2 separate regions of the Homo sapiens genome follow, and region 1 is linked to region 2. Evidence: promoter capture Hi-C in human tissues and cell types (Jung and others, 2019). All regions are on one chromosome and are shown on one strand. The core of a region is centred on a gene start or on the middle of the fragment in contact, and the rest is flanking DNA. Distances in the headings are between cores, read along the strand shown. Region 1 has its middle 50 kb from the start of NKD1. Region 2 holds the start of CNEP1R1 (CTD nuclear envelope phosphatase 1 regulatory subunit 1).

Region 1 (2,700 bases), core at 184-2,683, 470 kb before region 2:
CATGCTTCTAAGGAATAAAGGAAAATATGTTGATCTTTTCATCTATACATGCTTGTCACCTCAAATAGGTTCTAAACTCTTTGGGGGTGGAAAATAAAGGCAGGAAACTAATGTTGATTAAACACTGTGGTTGACGTTACAATGCTCTGCAACATCAGGCTCAGTTTTCCTTCCTGGACATACAGAAAACTATATATCCCAGTACCCTTGCTGTGAGGTGGAACCATGGGCTAGTCTTGGCTAGTTAACTGAGAGCAGAAATGTTCTGGCCAATTATTTAGTTAATTTCTTCCTCTGCCACAGTGAACATGGAGGCTTTGAGTTGAAGTGATGGAGCTGCAATTTGATCTTCTGGATTATGTATCACATCTAGAAGAAGTCTGCCCCGGAGGGTGGTCTTGGACCTACAGCAAGCTTCATGGGAGTGAAAAATAAACTTCTGTAGTGATTAGCCACTGAGCTTGCAGGGATGCTTGCTACTGCAGCACAGCCTTGCTTGGACTGACTGGTACAAGCACTACCATATGCAAGTATTTTTATATATATTATTATTTCATTTGATCCTCGCATCTCTAGAGGCAGGTATTATTATCCTCTCAATAAGAGGTAGACCCAGAAGTAGAGCCAGGTTTCTTTGCCTCCTGAGCCCTGGGTCTTAGCAATTAGGTAGATGCCACCCCCTAAAACAGGGAAATTTGGGAGGCAGGCATGTAAATGGTTAACTCAATGCAGAAATGCCCCTTGTCACCGTGGGGTCTTTGTTGAGGAAATTGTAATCCTTCAAGTGTGGCCTCCCAGAGTCTGGGAAAAAAATGTTCCCAGCTAAAAGTAGCTACACCAGAGGGTCCCAGCCAAAGTCCAACTCTAGGTTGGCAGAATTCTTGGATGGCTTGGAATTCCTGCTGGCCAAGGTTCCACTGGCATGGAAGTGTTTACACTCACGTCAAATTAGTTCTCCCACGCCTTCCAGAGCCTCAGCCCATATTTGGGATGGAAAGGGGAAAATGATTCCCAGGGGAGATTCAAAAGCATCAGAAAAATTCCTCAGGGGCCGAGGCTTCTCCGTGTGGCTTGGGGCTCTGAGCAGGGTCTCTCATACCTGGACCCCGTGCCAGCAGGGCAGCCAAGCCAGGAGCACATGAACCCCCTCACACACTAATTCAGAAGGAAGGCATTTCTGCAGTGACCCTTGGGAGACCCAGAACAGATCCATAGCCAAATGAAGTGCAAGAAACAGGAAAGAAGAAAAGATCTAACTTGCGTTTCTGTCTGTTGAAAGTAGGCTTTTCTTCCTCCCTTCTAGAAGATGCTATGTGATTGGAGTGCCTTTAGCCGCGAGAAGCAGAAAACCCAGTAAAAGCGTCTTTGCAGAAAGGAAAGCTCCCGGAAGACTGTGTAGAGTGTACCCTTTTTGTGAGGCTCAAAAGCAGGCAAAACAAAGCAATACGTTGTCTGGATATACATTTACATGTGATAAAACTATACAAACCCATACAAGGGAATGAGAAACACAGAATTCAGGACCGTGCTTATCTTAGGGGCAAATGCAGGGAGGTGGTCATGGGGCCAGTTCGAGAGGAGCACATATGGAGGAGTAATCACTATTGGCAATATTCTAGTTCTTGAGTTGAGTGATGGGTTCATGGGTGTTCGTTATTTTAATAAATATCCCAGTGGCATGTCATGAATCAAGGCTCATGATTAATCCAGTTCTGTCTACCTAAGATCTATTTTTAAAGGGGAACTCAATAACAGCCAACACTTGTACACCATTTCCTGCGTGCCAGGCACTGTTATAAGCCCTTCACATATATAAACATGTTTACACCTCCTAGCAGCCTTATGAGTTGGGTCTTATTTTATGTCCACTTTCCAGATGAAGAAACCAAGGCAAGACAGGTTAAGCATCTGCCCAAGGTCACACAGCAGGCAATTAGGCTTCAGAGACCTCCTTCATAGCTGTTGCAAAATAGGAATGTTAGTCACATCATATAACTGCAAGCCCAGAGACAGAGCTGTTGTGGGGTGGGTTTGTTCTGTGGTTCAGGTGACATCATCAAAGATGCTGTCCTCACCATGTCCACCAGGTCCCCCCGCCGCTAGTCATACTGCACTTGCAGTCTTTGCAGACAATCCCACACAGTTCAGCAAAATGAGGCATTTCCTCTCATGTGCTGTTTCATTGGTGAGGAATTCCTTTCCCAGATCCTAGCTTGGAGACTTCCCCTTGGAGCCATTGACCAAGCCGAATCTCATGTCCAGACCCAAACCAATCATTGACCACCATAATGGGCTTTGAGCATTCACAGTTCACCCCCCTGAGACTGCAGGGATGAGTGGGAACAGTCAGGGGTGTTTGCCTCTAATTAGGGTTCCCCTGCATGGGCTATGAGAAGAAAAGACGGTTGACTCTGCTGGACTGGGGGCTCCCTAAACAGAAACCATGTCTAAGTCATCCTGCCCTCCCTGTCCCCCACGCCCAGTCAAGGCCCATCAAATAGTAGGCATCCATTCTACTGGACAGGCCAGTCCTGGGGCTTGTCATGCTCACAGTCTCCTCCTGAAAAAAGAAGAGACCATCTGTCCCTGGAGCCCAGGTGGCTTATATCTGTCCAGAGGTGATTGGTTGAGAGTCAGTCACCTGACCTAAGAGAAGTTATGTCACAGGCTAGCCAAGATCCTATGGTATATCTTGATACA
Region 2 (2,700 bases), core at 44-2,543:
TAAAAGTATCAATTGTTAGTTTTCCCTTAAAATAACATTCAGGAACTTACTTCTCCAGCGTCCAGTAGCAGGTTGCAAACAATGAATATATTCAGTAAGTCTCCTCTCAAAAGCCTTGAGATCTAGGTATAAAGATGTCAATTTTCTAATTAGCCACTCTTACTCGTCTGACGAAATGTCAGAGTATTTACCTAACATTAAGACGACATGTGAGATACTCTTAACTGCTTCAGGTCTTACACACTAACTTCCATGTATCACTGCACTGTTTATTTCATTTACTATGACAGCTTTTTAAGCACTTGACAAAAAATTAGGGCTCTTTAATTCCAATTTCTCATATAAGAAAACTTGCTGATTTACTTTTAGAAGCTTCATAAATGGTATTGGGAGAAATAAGCAGCAGCCTCGGCCAGCGCCAAAAGCGAACATTTTCAGGGTTGCAAATAAAATTAAAATCAGGTCGAGTTTTAGCTCTCTGGGAACCAAGAACTTCCTATTAGAACCACGTAGTGCCTAACATCAAAGTCTTCGAGGTCTACCTGACTGCAATTACCCGCCTCCGGTTTCCAGCTCTTATATTTAATTAATGGCTACGCCGTCTGGCCTTACTAGACTTCTTGACACTGATAGCGAGTGGGTGTGGAAAGACATTCCCCTTGCCCCCTCCGAAGGGGTACAGGTGATCTTCGTGGCACCCAGGCAGCGCCTAGTTCTAGAAGACAGGGGCGTCTAAGCTGCTCCGAGTGAGTGGTGGGGTATCCTTTCCGCAGTGGTGTGCTTTAAACTTTAAAACACCGAGCAGCACTTCCTAACCTTGGCAGTTACCGGAAACCACCGCAGGAATCAGGGATACAACTCGCGGGGCTGTGAGAATGAAATGAAATGAATTAGCAGGCTGCAATGCACGAAGTGCAAGTGTCTGCCAGTGAAAAGAAAATAAAAATAGAAGCTGGCGAGGAGGTCGACCCTCTAGGTTTGTGGGGACTCAGGGAGCTGAGGCACCGCCCCCCGCGTCTGGCCAGGTACGGCCGCCTACGCGCCCCCAAGCTCCGGGCCCCTAGCTCCATCCTCTGCGGCCTCCTCCCGGGGCGGGGGTCTTCACGACGCCGGCTCCTCCGGAGCACCGCCAGCTTCCGAGGGGAGACGGGGGACGGGCCCGGGCGGCCCACCCTACCTTCCGCCTGCTCCAGCGAGTTCATGTCGGGCGGCAGCTCGGGTCACCGCCGCTGCCCTGTCCGCATCGCAGCTTCCGCGGCCCCCGCCCGGCCCGCAGCGCCAACTCCCACCTCTAACCGCTCCCCGCTGCCCCTCCCCGTCGCACCGCCCCTTGCCTAGACCCGCTACGCTCATTGGATTCCTCTACTAGACCTCCAACTAAGACAGCTTTCTATTGGCTGTCTCTTGCACCGGCCTCGGCGCCTAGCGTTGGACGGTCAGCCGGAGGGACCAAGAACTGCCGGCGGCCAGGCGGGCGTAACGCTGGCGTCGCCTGCTGCCCCGGGGAGGAACTGCAGCCCTCCGGAGCCAGTTCGTTCATTCATTTATCCCCCGTTCCCCGCTTGGTTCTTTCATTCGTCAAATGTTGATTGAGCGCCCACTACCTTCCAGGCATTATTCTGGTCGCTAGCGAGGGATACAGAAATCAAAGAGCTGGTTCTGTCCTCAAGGATCTCAAGGAGTAATGAAATCTGTACAGAACTAACTAGAACCCTAAATAACCAGTTTCCTTAATTATGGTATCCTAGATAACCAACCCCTTAAGTAAACACTTCTCTCTTGGTTACTTTCCTCTCACATCACCCAGCTTTCATAATTCCTAAATGAGGCAAAGTGTAAGCCCAAATACCTATAACTTAAGAAGAGATCTGTAAGGGATTGACTACATTTGTATTTGATCACAAGGCCTTCTTGTTCATTTATTGGTGGCATTCTTTCATTCAAAATCATTTTATTGCCTAACATGCTAGACACTGTATTGATACGCGTGTGAGCCAGGTAGACAGGATTCCTGCCCGCAAAGAGGAAGGGCTACAGCAGGCAACAAACATGCAAATAAGTAATTGATTTCAAATAAGAATAGTTGTGTTAAAATAGAGATCCTGGCCGGGCGCGGTGGCTCACGCCTGTTAATCCCAACACTCTGGGAGGCTGAGGCGCGTGGATCACTTGAGGTCAGGAGTTGAGACCAGCCTGGGCAACATGACAAAACCCTGTTTCTACTGAAAATACAAAAAAATTATCCAGACGTGGTGGTGCATGCCTGTAATCCCAGCTCTTTGGGAGGCTGAGGCACGAGAGTCACTTGAACCCAGGAGACGGAGGTTGCAGTGAGCCACTGCACTCCAGCCTGGGTGACAGCGTGAGACTGTCAAAAAAGAAAAAGAAAAAAAAAAGAATCTAAGACTGATGGGCTAGATTTTTTTGTGGCAGTAACATACCAACTTATAAACAAGACCTAAGGCCCTGCCAGGCAAGGGTTAAATCACTCAAGACCCAGACACTTAAAGAATAAACGATGTTCTAACTGCCACAATGTTCGTTTTTTTCCTCTAGCAGCTAAACAAGCAATATTAAAACAATTGCAGCTTACCAAGTACCAGTCACTGACTAACTGATCCCTTTGTTCCACAAGCCATAACTCCTGCTTTCATTAGACAAGAGACTGATTTCAGTAACTTTCTCCTGATAAGAGACCAC

Evidence for each region. Contacts are between HindIII fragments. The study calls those that stand out against the background at their distance.
Region 1: a contact is called between a fragment that was not itself captured here and the fragment with the promoter of CNEP1R1 in region 2, in 1 of the 25 tissues and cell types used here (hippocampus).

Annotation. Positions count from the first base shown.
Region 1 is chr16:50,497,193-50,499,892 of GRCh38, reverse strand. No RefSeq gene overlaps it. Among named protein-coding and RNA genes, the nearest start is that of NKD1, 50 kb to the left of the region's middle. The HindIII fragment of the contact is 5,593 bases long and covers 1-2,700 here.
Region 2 is chr16:50,023,818-50,026,517 of GRCh38, reverse strand. It overlaps CNEP1R1 (CTD nuclear envelope phosphatase 1 regulatory subunit 1), which reads right to left and starts at 1,293. Exons shown (of 6, transcript NM_001281789.2): 1 at 1,178-1,293; 2 at 51-122. The coding sequence starts at 1,202. RefSeq lists a silencer at 980-1,289 and an enhancer at 1,103-1,604. The HindIII fragment of the contact is 15,057 bases long and covers 1-2,700 here.